Linked DNA regions of Homo sapiens: region 2 is linked to region 1. The links are contacts of gene promoters, found by promoter capture Hi-C in blood cells and fetal thymus (Javierre and others, 2016). All regions are on one chromosome and are shown on one strand. The core of a region is centred on a gene start or on the middle of the fragment in contact, and the rest is flanking DNA. Distances in the headings are between cores, read along the strand shown.

Region 1 (6,725 bases), core at 690-3,189:
GCCTCTGTGAAAAGCACATAAATATTCTCAGCCAGGGCTGGCCCTTTGCTTCAATCTCCAGCTATCACAGGGAGTCAGTCTGATAAACATTTGCAGTTAGAATGGAAGGAGGCACAGCCTCCTAGACTTTTACAGATTTTTTTGGACAAGTAGCAGAGTCACAGAAAACCTAGAATTAGGTAAGAAAGCAGAACTCCTCCAGAGAATTCAGAGAGAGCTACAACTGAGAGCCTTTAAACAATCAATGTGTAGGAACAGAAGAAAGGAAATCCACAATTCAAGAAAATAAGCAGACATTTTTTTTCCTCAAAAAAAATTGTTAAGATGAATGTTAGGCACTGATTTTAGCCCTCTGTTCCATCCCTCAAGATGTCACTTGAAAAAGCAAAAGGTTTTATCCACAAAACCACCGGCGAGTAAACAGCCTTCACATTCTTAGCCTCGTACACACACAGTAAGATATTTACTCTCTGATAAACAGCAATTGTAAATAAATCTCATTTAATCTCTAAAAGCCACAATAAAAATCTTTAACCTCCAAGGTAGAGTTTACAGATGCGTCTGCATGCCCTGCCAGCCCCAGAAAACACAAGGTCTTGAATAAACTACTATACCAGGAGGCACATTTTCTCGCTCAAGCATCTTACATTGACCTTCTTTAAAACAAAAATACGTACAAGGAGGAGGAAAGGGGAAAACCCAACCCCTCCCACCCCATTCTCTGTACAAATCGGCCAATAAATCTAACGAAAAGACACAAGAGAAAAAGGACAGAAGCCAACAGGTGGAACAAGGCTTTTTGTTTCCTTAGAAATGCTCAGACACTTGATCTGTGCTCCTCAGTCTATTTGTCTCAGGGTGTCTTTAATGATGTTTTTATTACCCTGATGATGATGATCAAGAATAATGATAACACTTCTACTCTGTGATTCCACAGCATCTCTAGCTGACGATTTCTCCACGCGTTTCAGACACAGTGATCTGTTCTGTTTCGCTCAATCCCAGGGAGGCATACAGCATCCCTGATCAGCAACCTTGATTTTACAGATGGGGAAATTGAGGCACGGGGCACCCCACAACTCAACAGTCTCTACGACCAGAGGAATCCCTGAGACTGGAAAAGTTTCTGGATCGTCTTGTGGCAGAGTTCTCTTGCTCTCCCTTCTTGCCTGCCATGCCGCTCCTCCTCGGAGAGTCTGGGCTGGGGTGGTAAGGATCGGGGTGCCTCCCCTTCACAGCGAGGCACGCCAGGGCAGTGTGTGGGAAGTCCACACGCACACACAGACCCACGGGCACACTGGCACACACAAAGCTCGATGCAATCTCTGCAGTCACTCGGCGGAGCCCTGGCCGGCCCTTGCTCAGCCTGAGAATGCACAGCTCGGAGCCTGCAAGGCCTCCCTGGGCTCTGGGCTGGGGTTTCCCTGAACCAAGGCTCTGCCCTTCTCTCCCTCTTTTCCAGGCTTCCCTCTCTCGCGCTCCCTCTCTCTCTCTCTTTTCCCTCCCACCCTCACACCCTCCTCCCAGCCCTCTCCATCCACCCCTTCTCCCCCACCAACCCAGAGGCACAGATCGTGTTACTGGGGTTCCCTCGAAAGAGGGGCCATCCCCAGTCCTGGATGCCTTGAAAGACTTCCAGGGGCAACGCAGGAGCTCCAATCGCAGGACCCCAGCGCTCCTCCAGAGCAGCGCAGGAATGAGACCCCCACTTCCAGGCACAGGCGAACAAGCCTGCCACCGAAGAAGGAATTGTTAGGGCTCTTACCTTTTTTATGAGGAGAAATTCTGGAGAATCATTTCAGAAACTGAGGGGGGAAAGTGAATGAAGACAAAAAAGACCCTTTTCCCGCAATCCCTGGCCTCCTGGTATCAAGACACCAGGACAACATCAAAGCAACTTAGGGGGAACACTTTAGGGGCCTATTGTCTGCTCTGGTCTGATCTGTTTTTCTTCTGACTCCCCCTCTTGCTGCGGTGACACTTGGTACGGCCCAGGCATTCATGCCAAGTAGCTTTCACACATGGAAGCTTGTCTCAAGCAATTGCTGACAAGCCACAAACAAGACATTCTCCCTCCCTTCTCTGCGCCCCCCCACTCCTCCCCCCTCCACCTTTTCCTCCTCCCCTCTTGTCTCCCCTCCTCCTTTCTTCTGAATGCAAACTAAAACTCTCCAGTGACAGGCAGGCTCGCAGGCTTGGCCTAGCTGCGCACGCAGGCACACACACACACACACACACACACACACACACACACACACACACTCTCTCTCTCTCTCTCTCTCTCTCTCTCTCTCTCTCTCTCTCTCTCTCTCTCTCTCTCCTCTCTCTCTCTCTCTCTCTTCTCTCTCTCTCTCTTCTCTCTCTCTCTCAAGCAGCTCAGCTAGTTGCTGCTGCACTGGTGGAGTTAAGAGACAGGAAAAAGCCCAGGCTGAGTTGGGGGCAGGGAGAAAAAGAGAGGGAGAGCGAGAGCAGAGAGCCGCCTCCTGTGTCCTAGTAAAATGGCAGAAGAGAGGTGAGTCCTTTGGAAGAAAAGCAGTGGCCACACACGTGTGCACACATACACAGACTCAGGCCATCTCAGCGCCAGGAAAAGTGAAATAAATGACCCGACAAAGGAAAAAGCAAAGTCCCATTAGCTGGAGATTGGGGGAGTAGGGAGATAAGAGGGTGAGTGGCCCCAGGACTGGGGTTTCTGTTGAGTGGTTAGGTGATTTTTCTTCTTTACAATAGAGAAAAATTTGTTTCCTAAGGATCTAGCCTTCTTTCACTGCATAATTGAGCATGGACTTGAGCTACTAGTTAAAATAAAATCATGAAATGTGTAAATGTGTGAGTAAACTTAACTGTAGGTTCAACTTGTACCCAAGATATTTTTAAAGTGAAGCTTTTTTTATTTTTTTTTATTTTTTATTTTAGCAGAAACCCTAGAGAGCAGTAGCAAGGAGAGTAGTAACAAGTAGTGTAAACTAGGAGAGCTGTGAAGTGTGATGCTAAAGTTACTGATTGCCAGGCTGCTGGAATTTATGGAGGGTGGGCCTGAGAGTTGGAGGAGGGGAGGGTGAGTGTGCTGTTTTCTAGGAATAAGAGGGGAATGAGGTAGGATAATGAATATGGCAAGAAACAAGCAGGAATTTGATTGGTGTGGAGGGAGGAGGTGGGGGCTGTAAAGGAGTGGAGAGAGAGAGAGAGAGAGAGAGAGAGAGAGAGAAACAACACTGCATTAAAAAAAGAAGAAAAATGGAAGCCCAGAAAGATTGAAACATGCAGAGTAAATGAGATGGTAAAAGAAGGCATAAAATGTGAGCAAAAAGGAGCACAAAGGATGTGCAAATTTGCAGATGGCATGAAATCAGGAGGGCCAATTGAGATCAGGAAGAAGAATGACAGGATGATTATATGACATTCATATTTTTAGATACTGTGGACTCACAGACCTAACAAGGTCTCCTCTGCCTAGGCCAGAAGAGTTATCCCTATGCAACAGGATCTGAATGGAAGCTTAGCTCCTAACTGCTGCTGAATCAGTTCTGTACTTTTTCATGAAGATTGTTTAGACTCTATTCCTCAGAATCTTCCTTTACAAAATGGAAATTATGAGAACACACATCACTCATTCCTTCATAGGTATGCAGTAAAGAATAAATTATGACTTCTTTCATACTTAACACCAGCTAAATGAGGTGTCACTACCTAAAACTCACCACATCAAAGACACAGACTTGTTCCTGTTATTTTCCCCCTTAATTTGCTCCTCCATTATCCCTGATCCCTGAACTGTCTGTCCCGACTCCCATTAATGATGATGATGTGGTAATATAATAATAATAATAATAACCTTTTTTTAAGTATTTACTTGATTCTTAGCATTTTCCCACTCATTTGTATCATGAAGTAATTTTTGTTATGATCATTTCCATTTACAGATGATAGAAAAACGAGGCACAGAGAGGTTAAGCAACTTGTCTGAGGTCACACAGCAAGGCAGAGGTAGAGCTGAAATCCAACTGAGGCCTGTGTGATTCTAAAGCCCCAGCGTTTACCCGCCATATTATGCCTTCTCACTGGAGTAGTCCAGGTACTCCATGGCACTTCAAGTCCAGTCAGCCATATAAGTACACTGTTTTTTCTGTACCCCAGGGTTGGGTTTGGATCCTTTCATTTTGAGCCAGGGGAACTTCTGACCTCCCCTTAATAGGCTACTGACTCACTGTCCACTTCTAAGTGGTGGTGACTCACTATACACAATGAGGCCTCCCAGGCAAGAATTGCATAAAGGGTCGACTTAACCTTCAATGACTGCACTATTTTCAGATTGCTAGGCAATAGAGAAAGGCAGCTAAGACCAGAAAAGCTTCCCTTTCTTAAGTATAAAAAATTTTTTTAAATAAAAAAGCAAACTAAAAAGGCCCATAGATATTGATGATAATGGTGATGACAGCAACTAACATTTATTAAGAATTTCCATATATTAAACAACCCCATACAGTGTAAACTATCAGTGTGTCTATTTTCTAGATGAAGGAGCTGAGGCACAGAAGTGAAGGAGCGTGTTAAGGTAATCCAGCCAGGAAGTAGTGGCTGAGATATGGCCCCAGGTGGTCTGCCTTTCTAGAGACCAGGATCCCCACCACTATGCTGTACTGCTAAGGCAGCAAAAAGACTTGTTCCAATTGTTAGAGTGAAAATACAAATGCTCAATGAGAGAAAGAAGAAAGAGGCAATCATGATCCTAACACTTTCACATGCATTTTTAAATCTCATGATATCTCCTATAAGTAGTTAAAGAAAAAGAAAGCATGTGCCCAGGCCCCCAAACAACCTTTAATTTTCCAATTCCTCCACTTGGCAGAGGACAGAGAATGCCAGGCCTCCAGGCCAGAACATGTTGGTAAGAACACCAGGTCAGACTATCTTGCCTCCAGCACTGATGGCTTCCACCTGCCAACTCCAAAGAGAAAAAAGAAATTCCAAGTGGATAAGTGAACAAGGTCAATGCATGAGCATTTCTAAGTTTATTTTACAAGACTTATGAAAGCTAAGCATGGAGTATAGATGAAAATGTCCTAGATTCTTAGGCAGAAGAACTGTGAGCACGAGCCTTGCTATCTGAACCCTATTTCCTCAATTATAAAATAAGCTAATGACATTAGCTCTAAAACCCTTTCCAGTTCTGAAATGCTATCATGCTAATAGTTATCTGGTTGATGAGGAAAAGACTAGAAGCCAGACTGGGCGCGGTGGCTCACGCCTGTAATTCCAGCACTTTGGGAGGCCAAGGTGGGCGGATCACGAGGTCAGGAGACGGAGACCATCTTGGCTAACACGGTGAAACCCCGTCTCTACTAAAAATACAAAAAAATTAGCCGGGCATGGCGGCGGGCGCCTGTAGTCCCAGCTGCTGGGGAGGCTGAGGCAGGAGAACGGTGTGAACCCGGGAGGCAGAGCTTGCAGTGAGCTGAGATCACACCATTGCACTCCAGCCTGGGTGACAGAGCAAGACTCTGTCTCCAAAAAAAAAAAAAAAAAAAAGAAAAGAAAAAGACTAGAAGCCAAGGTAACTGATGAGGTGTGTTTGGCATGTATGTGTGTAAATGCGCTGGAGGGGGTTTAAGGAATGGAACAAGAATTAGACCCTATCTGGGCTGTTCTACCCAGATTGCAACACACCTCTTCCAAAATGCCTTCTACATAATATCCATTTTTCACTTTATTTTGTTTCACTGCTACAGCTCTCACCAATTACAAATTCACTTGCATTATTAATAATTTTTTTAAAATGTAAACACCTCTAGAAGGGATAAGGGAAGTCAGCCTTTCCTACTTTAGCATGAATTATTTCATTAGCCTACTTTTCTACAAATTCCTATATCATATCAAACAGCCATTTAGAGTAGAGGGAGAAGAGGAAAACAATAGTAGGAGCAGGTAGATAGTTTTGTAACTTAGAAGACTCCTTGGTGTACGGCAGGCCTGATTTGGGGGCTGTACAGGGCAGTAGAAAGAGAAGGGACACTAGGAAACAAGACAAGCTGTAGGAGGTGAGAAGATGTGAAAAGCAAAGACTTTCAAAACTTTTATCTAGCCCAGCCCAGAATGAATTGAAGGAGCTTCATAATTCTCCACATTCCCTCTCCCTTTTCCTGCATCTGGCACAGGCTCATAATAGGTTCCTATGGGTTCCCTATGGGACTTAATGTTCATTCAAAACATGGGAGAAATGCTCAGATTTCTAAACAACCAACTTACAAAATAACCTTACAAACTATAGCCCATTCATAATTTGACATCTACCTACATGTATATATTTAACTGTGGAAAAGAATGTAGGAGTGGGACAAATGAGACTTCTCCACATTTCTGGAAAGGTGAATTATCTGACATAAAGGAGAGAATCGAGCAGAAAATCAAGAAACAGATTTCAAGATTTACCAGATAAAGGAGCAATTTAGAGGCTGGCAAGATTAGAACTCACCTAATCTGAAAATAGCTACCTCTTACTAATAATAACTATAGAAAAACATAGCACTCCCCAGTGATTAAAAGCCAAGGTAAAATGGCTCGTTTTGGAATTAAAAGATCCAGGTTCTGATATTAGTGTGCTTACAAGCTAAATGACCTTGACCAAGTCTTTTAACTTTTCTGAGACAGTTTCCAATGAGTTACTATGTAAATGAGCTTTACAAGCAGTAAAGTGCTATACAAATTTTAGCTAGTAATATATAATA
Region 2 (7,170 bases), core at 4,637-7,136, 4.5 Mb before region 1:
CCACCCTCGGGCATTGTGGGGCAATGAAGGTGGGTGGAGGGAATGAGGCACCACAACAGTATTTCCCTCTAGCAGCTCCTGGGACTGGGTTTTCTGGCATTTCTATCTCCCCCAAATATCTGTAACAGGCGGTGTTCATATCTCTAAATCAGAGTTCTGGCTGCTGAGGTAGCAGGACTGAGACCGGGGCTGGACCCTGACTGAGACCCAGGAGCCAGCAGCCTCTAGCCACTCCAGTCACAGGCACAGCCCAGGGACCCACCGCCACGCCCTCCTGCAAGATAAAGGAAGCAGCAACTCAGACATCAGGGTGGGTGAGTCACTTCCTGGGCCGTGGCTCAGGGCCTCCACTCTGCTCCAGGCCTAAAACGCCCTTTCTGCTCAGATCACAAAAACCACTCGTTTCCTGTCCACAGCTAGATTTCTTTACTGGCCAGCCTGGCTTGGAGGGAGGTGCAGAGCAGCCAGTCTTAGAGAGGGTACGTCAGGACTCCTCCCTACTCCCACACAGGCGACCAGATCCCGAGGCTGCAGGCAGAGTGTGCCTTTCTGCTGCCCAGCGCCCCCACAGGCCCAGCAGCACACACTGTGATCTTCAACCTGCTTTATTTGTTTCAAGTTTGCCGTTTAAAAGGCAACTTGCTCTAGAAGGGCATTTGCTTTCCTCTCTTCCTCTAGACACACCCACCAAAACACAAGGAGAGGCCCTGAAAAGTAACTGGAAAGTCACAGACCGTTCTGGCAAGTGGAGTTGATGAGAAACAGGTAATTCCTGCTCGTGGGGCTGACTGGTTTTCTGCTTTGGCTCCCAATCAAGAGGTGACTAAACACAGAGGGGAATTTTACCAGGCCCCAGAGACTCGGATTGGAGCGAGAGAGTTCCATGGGCTCAGCTGGGAAATGAGGCACAAGGAGCCAGCCCCAGAACAGAGACCCCTCCAAAGCCAACAGCTCCAGAACCGCCTCTTGCCACAACATTCAATGCCCTGGCTTTGATGTTTTGTGTCTCTTGCTGACTCACAAACTTGGGAGGTAACTGGCTTTCCCTATCAAAAATTACTAACCCTTGAGGGGCAATTTCGCGATAGCTGTCAACATTTTCAATGTTCATAATCTGGACACCATTGATTCTGCCTACTTTCAGGGGTTTTTCCTCAGATATGCCCAGACATACACAGGATTTCTGGATCATTGATTAGGGAAAAAATGATGCCATCTAATTGTCTTTCATCAAGAACCCACTATTTGGCTGGGTGCAGTGGCTCACACCTGTAATCCCAGCACTTTAAGAGGCTGAGGCGGGCGGATCACTTGAGCTCAGGAATTTGAGACCAGCCTGGACAACATGGGGAAACCCTGTCTCTACTAAAAATACAAAAAATTAGCCAGGTATTGTGGCACACACCTATGGTCTCAGCTACTCGTAGGCTGAGATGGGAGGATCACTTGAGCCTAGGAGGCAGAGGTTGCAGTGACCCGAGATCGTGCCACTGCACTCCAGCCTAGGTGAGAGAGTGAGACCCCACCTCAAAAAAAAAAAAAACCTACTATTAGATATTTGATATTCCACCTGTATTATAGAATACTATGTAGTCGTTAAGAAGGTAGAGGCTGAGCACAGTGGCTCCCGCCTGTAATCCCAGCACTTTGGGAGGCTGAGGCGGACGGATCACAAGGCCAGGAGATCGAGACCATCCTGGCCAACGTGGTGAAACTCTGTCTCTATTAAAAATACAAAGAAAATAAGCTGGGCGTGGTGACACACGCCTGTAGTCCAAGCTACTCAGCAGTCTGAGGCAGGAGAATCGCTTGAACCCGGGAAGTGGAGGTTGCAGTGAGCTGAGATCATGCCACTACACTCCAGCGCGATACTCCAGAGCGATACTCCGTCTCAAAAAAAAAAAAAGGAAGAAGAAGAAAGTAGAAAGATATGCACTGGTATACAGATCACTAAGTGAAAACAAAGCAAGTGGCAGATGAGTGTATACAGTGTGACTCCATACTGTGTACATACTCAAACAAAACAACAGTCTTTTAACAACAGAGACACTTTCTGAGAAATTTTGTCATTGTGGAAACATCATAGAAACCTAAATAGTATAGCCTACTACACGCCCAGGCTATATAGTATAGTCTGTGGCTCCTAGGCTCCAAAGCTGTGCAGCATGTGACTGTACTGAATACTGTAGGCAATTATAACACAATGGTAGGTATTTGTGTATCTAAACATAGAAAGGTACAGTAAAAATATGGTATAAAAGATTAAAAATGCTATACCTGGCATCACATGGCATCAGCTGGACTAGCTCCCCTGAGGCTGGAGGATCCACTTCCAAGATAGCTCACTCATGTGGCTGTCACTTTGGTGCTGGCTCTTGATTCTCTTCTACTTGAGCTTCCTCACAGCATGGTGGATGGCTTCCATGAGTGAGTGTCCCAAGGGAGAACCAGGGAGACATCATCTCACCTTTTAACATCAAGTCTGAGAAATCATGTAGCATTATTTCTGAAACAGTCACAAGCCTACCTAGGTTCAAGGGGGAAAAATATAGAACCTACCTTTTGATAGAAAGAGTGTGAAGGTCACTTTGTAAGAGCGTGTGGGAGGCAGATATTGTTTTGCCCATTTGGGGAAAATACAATCTACCAAGCTCCCACCCCAAACAATTCATCTTAGCTAATTAAGGTAATTTCATCCCTTTGGCCAACAATTGGTTCAGGGCTAGGCAGGACTGAACAGTTTTGGGCAGTGAGACTCAAGAGAAGCTTGCTCAGGGTTTTTGAGAAAAAGAAGTTTCTCCCACTTGAACAAGGAAATACATGCTCCTTATGTGCCACCTGCTTCTGGTGGCCATCCTATGATTACAAGGGAAATGTGGATCACGGGATAAAAAGACTGAAGAGCCTTGTCCCTGATGACATCACTAAGATGCTGAATCAATCAGCCCTGGAGACTGCTCTGTCCTGGGACCTACTTTTATGGAGAAAATAAATAATAATTTTATGAATACTGAACCCTATTTGAGTCAAGTTTCTATCCCTTTCATCCAAAATCTCCTTAACTTACCCAGTTTCTTCCTAACATTCTTAACATTGCTGAGCTAACCTGCCCATCCTCAGGCCTTCCAAGAGCAGGAGGTGAGGTATGGGAGCCAGGGAAAGGTGAAACTAGAGGAAGTCTTATCGCACAAAAATGATAAACCATCTAAAAAGACCACAAGAACCTTTGAATTCTTCATTTGTCACATGAAAGTCCTCATGCCTGGTACTAACCCATCATGTCCTTGCCCTACACCCAAAGTATGAATAAGAAGAAGGTCGTTAAATGCCCTCTAGAAGGTGGGTGGTGCCACTAACAAAAGGTAGGATGGAGATGCTGGAGCCTGTCGTTAATGAGCTGACAGCCTAACAGAAAAAAAAAAAAAGGCTATAATTCAAGATTCACTGTATTACACATCAAAAGAAAAGTACAGATACAGTGCTATGTATCAATGAAGGATATCAATGAAGAGACAGATGTTTTTAGTTGGAAGAGATGACTGAAAGCCCCACGAGAAGATGCTTTTTGAGTTGAGTCTTCATAGAGCTAGAATTTGGATATAAGAAGATGGGGAGAACATTCCAGATGGAAGGAAGGAATCACAAGAACAAAAACCAATATATGGGAAACTGTGAGATTCCTAAAGGCTGGAAGATATTCAAAATGTGACCCAGCACTGGCCAATTAGAACAGTTACCAGTCTGCAAGGCTGAAGAAAGTCCTAGAGACCCTCTGTCAAGCCATGCATTAACCCTTATGTTACCTGGTTATGGGAATTGGGTGGACCAGGAGAGGGACTGGAGTGGCTGGAGCTTCAGGTGGGTGGCACTCAGGGGTTTAAGCAAGAGGCTATTTAGCAAGTGATAGAGAAGAATTTCAATATTTTAACAACCAGCGTGTGGCACCAGTTCTTACTAGTGAGAACCGGCTAAAAAAATCAACCCTGCCTACAGGAAACAGTGAAAAGTTCCACTTCACTAGAGTTCACAGTGAATGAAAGGAAATAATGAAAAAATAGCTGGAATTAGGCCACGAAGGAGTTTGAATTCCAAGATGAAGAATTTGGACAAAAAAATTAAGCAATACAGATCCACTGAGAATATTTTGATGACACATTCAGATCACAATGGATTGAACATGGATCTGACATGGTGTGGCTTCCTCAGAGTAGAAATTTAGCATATATGTGACAATTTGCTGTGGGTCATTGTGAAAGAGAAAATTTCTCAGGTCTCCCTAACTACAGTGAAGACCTAAAAAAACTATAAGGGAATACTTTAATGACTTCCAACCATCAGCATGAAAGATGTCTAGAAGAAAATGAAGAGAAATGTAAATGTGTGCTGACAATGGCAGAAAGCAAACAGTTAACTCCCATCAGCAATCACAGGGACTCGGCTGCTCCAAGATGCCATCCCACAGAACACCTGAGAGAGCTGAGGGCCAGGAATTAGAGCAGAGGCAACAGGAAGTGAGAGGCGCTTGAAGGGATAACAATAATGACCCTCCACATTTGCAAAGTGCAATTTACAAGGCACCCTTTCTTTTAATCCACACGGCAATACTGCGAGTAGTAATTAACATTTGTATAACACTATACCATTGAAAGAGCCCTTTTATATTCATTATTTCCTTAATTCTCCCCGTCTTACACCTGAGAAAACTGAGGCCATTAGAAAACAGCTTATCTACTAGGGGAGAAAACTGGAACTCAAACTCAGGCCTTTAGATTCCTTGTCCAGCATTTCCATTTACGCTAGTGTGGCCTCAGGGACTCTGGGGTTATTTCTTAATCTTACAAATGTGGCCTCAGTGCTCCAGGCAGCAGCTGTAGGTTGTAAGAGAAACCTAAGTATCTCCCCTTACCGTTCTCCAAGGGGTAAACCTTCTATCCCAGGACCTAAATAGAAATAGGCTCACCCTAGAGACCAGGTGCACACCTCCTGGTGCAGAGGGCTCAAGCAGTTTCTGGAAGGATCCCATCCCATCCCTGTTTTGTTCATCAAATTAGATCTGGGAATCCTTAAAGGCAAGAATCATGACTTTTTGAAATCTTCATATCTTCAGACCAGGATGTGGTACTTAACAAATACTTGTTGAATAAAAATGAATATATACTCCAGCCTGGGCAACAGAGCGAGACTCCGTCTCAAAAAAAAAATGAATATATAAGTGAATATGCATATAATACCCTTGGAAATATCTTGAGATTCCCCCTCTGTCCAGAAAAAGAAAAACAATACAAAGAGCCAAACAATTCTTGAAGCAACAAGTTATTTAATATTAAGTCATAAGTTTTTATTTTGTTTTGTTTTTCCAGACAGGGTTTCCCTCTGTTGCCCGGGTACAGTGGCACAATCAAAGCTCTCTGCAGCCTCGACCTCCACTGCTCAAGTAATCCTCCCACCTCAGCCTCCTGAGGAGCTGGGACTGCAGGCACACTCCACCACATCTGACTAATTTTTTTAATTTTTGTAGAGAAGAGGTCTCGCCACGTTGCCCAGACTGGTCTTGAACTACTGGGCTCAAGCGATCTGTCCACCTCGGCCTCCCAAAGTGCAGGGATTACAGGCATGAGCCAGCGCACCCAGCCCCTCACAGCTTGTTAACCTCCTTCATGTCCACTCCACTTAAACTGGAATCAGTTTAGCACTCATCATGCTTAGATTTTGTCATCATTTATAAAGGCTCTGCCTACAACATGTTAAACTCACTGAAAAATTAGACTATACCAATAACTTCTTACATGCCAGCTCTCTCCATCCCTCTTTTCCACTTACCTTGCTCCTTGATTTTGTGGAGCCTTCCCACCATCCACCTTCTGTGTCCTTGCTCCTTCCTTCTTTGTCCAGCATGCAGTGCCAATCAAGTGAATTCCTTTCTCACCCATGCCCTCAACTCCTTCACCCCTTTATCCTTTGTTTACACCCATACACACACACCTAACCCTAAATTCATTCCACAGCCCGTTCTCTTGGATCTGATGACTAAACTTCGAAGCACACCTGGAAGAAGCCATACAGCCACACAATCACACAACCATGTGGATTGAAGTCACCACAAAATGATAGGTCCCTAAACTTTCACACCACTCAGCCATTCTGGTTCAGCTCCTCTTTCCATTTCCTCTGAGACCACAGGACCTCCTCAAGTCCCCTACCCAATGCCTATGCCCTCTGTGCCCCCTACCCAATGCCTATGCTCACAGATGCCTTACTTCCTGCCTCATAGCATCAAAAAGGCCATGGGAAAGGATAACCCTGTACAGCCCAAACCTACAAGCTATCTACAGCCTCCCTCCCACTCTTCTCCTTCTCCACCTCTCTGAAGTAATTCCAGTCACCCACGGCTCCTCTGGGGTCTTGTTTCATTGTTCACATTCTTTCAACCTGGAATCTTTGACTTCTCATTCTGATAACTCCTTCTCCACAGCTTGTAAAACTGTATATTTTTAAATATACCCTTAATCCTAGATCCCCTCTGGCTGCCACTTTCTCCTTTTCTTCATATTCAATTTGATCAAATGAGTAATCCATAACCCCATCTCTACTCTTCATCTCTCTTCCTCAGTCCACTGCCATCTGTGTTTCTTCCTACCACCACACTAAAACTGCTCTGGCAAAGGTATCCAAGGATATGATTGCCAATCAGGTGGACACATCTCAGCCTCCACCATACTCTGCCTCGCTGAAGTCTTTCACCTTGTTGACCACTCCCTGTATCTTGGAAGTCTCTCTTCATGAGCTTTGATGACACCAGAGAAGCCTCCTCCTGCTTCCCTGATCATCTCTCTTCTTTCTTCTATGTTGGATCATCTTCCTCCACTTGCTCTATAAATATTGTTTATTCACCTAAGTTGAGCTGGTCGAGCAGCATCTGAACAGAGACTTCATCTGTCTTGTTAACCACTACAGCCTCCATGCTTAGATAGCTCTGCACACATGAAGATTCTTCTTATATATCTGCTGAATGAATGAGTGAATGTTGGAAATACTGGAGTGAACAGTGCACCATCTCTGCCCTCAAGCATCTTGGAATCCAGTGAGGAAGATGATTAAGTAAACATAAAATGACAGTAGAGTATGATGGGATTATGATACAAGGAGCTATGAGAGAACATAAGATAGATA

Evidence for each region. Contacts are between HindIII fragments. The CHiCAGO score rates a contact against its expected background, and 5 or more counts as called.
Region 2: a contact is called between a fragment that was not itself captured here and the fragment with the promoter of BCL9 in region 1, in 1 of 17 cell types (fetal thymus). The highest score is 5.2, in fetal thymus.

The regions. Positions count from the first base shown.
Region 1 is chr1:147,536,715-147,543,439 of GRCh38, reverse strand. BCL9 (BCL9 transcription coactivator) reads right to left here and starts at 1,939. Exons shown (of 10, transcript NM_004326.4): 1 at 1,766-1,939. RefSeq lists enhancers at 1,894-1,953, 1,514-2,268, 1,987-2,281. The HindIII fragment of the contact is 5,169 bases long and covers 1-2,030 here.
Region 2 is chr1:152,041,417-152,048,586 of GRCh38, reverse strand. It overlaps LOC101927949 (a long non-coding RNA gene), which reads left to right. Exons shown (of 4, transcript XR_922147.2): 2 at 153-314; 3 at 679-765; 4 at 850-1,298. Among named protein-coding and RNA genes, the nearest start is that of S100A11, 8.0 kb to the right of the region's middle. RefSeq lists enhancers at 174-493, 1-1,065. The HindIII fragment of the contact is 6,236 bases long and covers 2,769-7,170 here.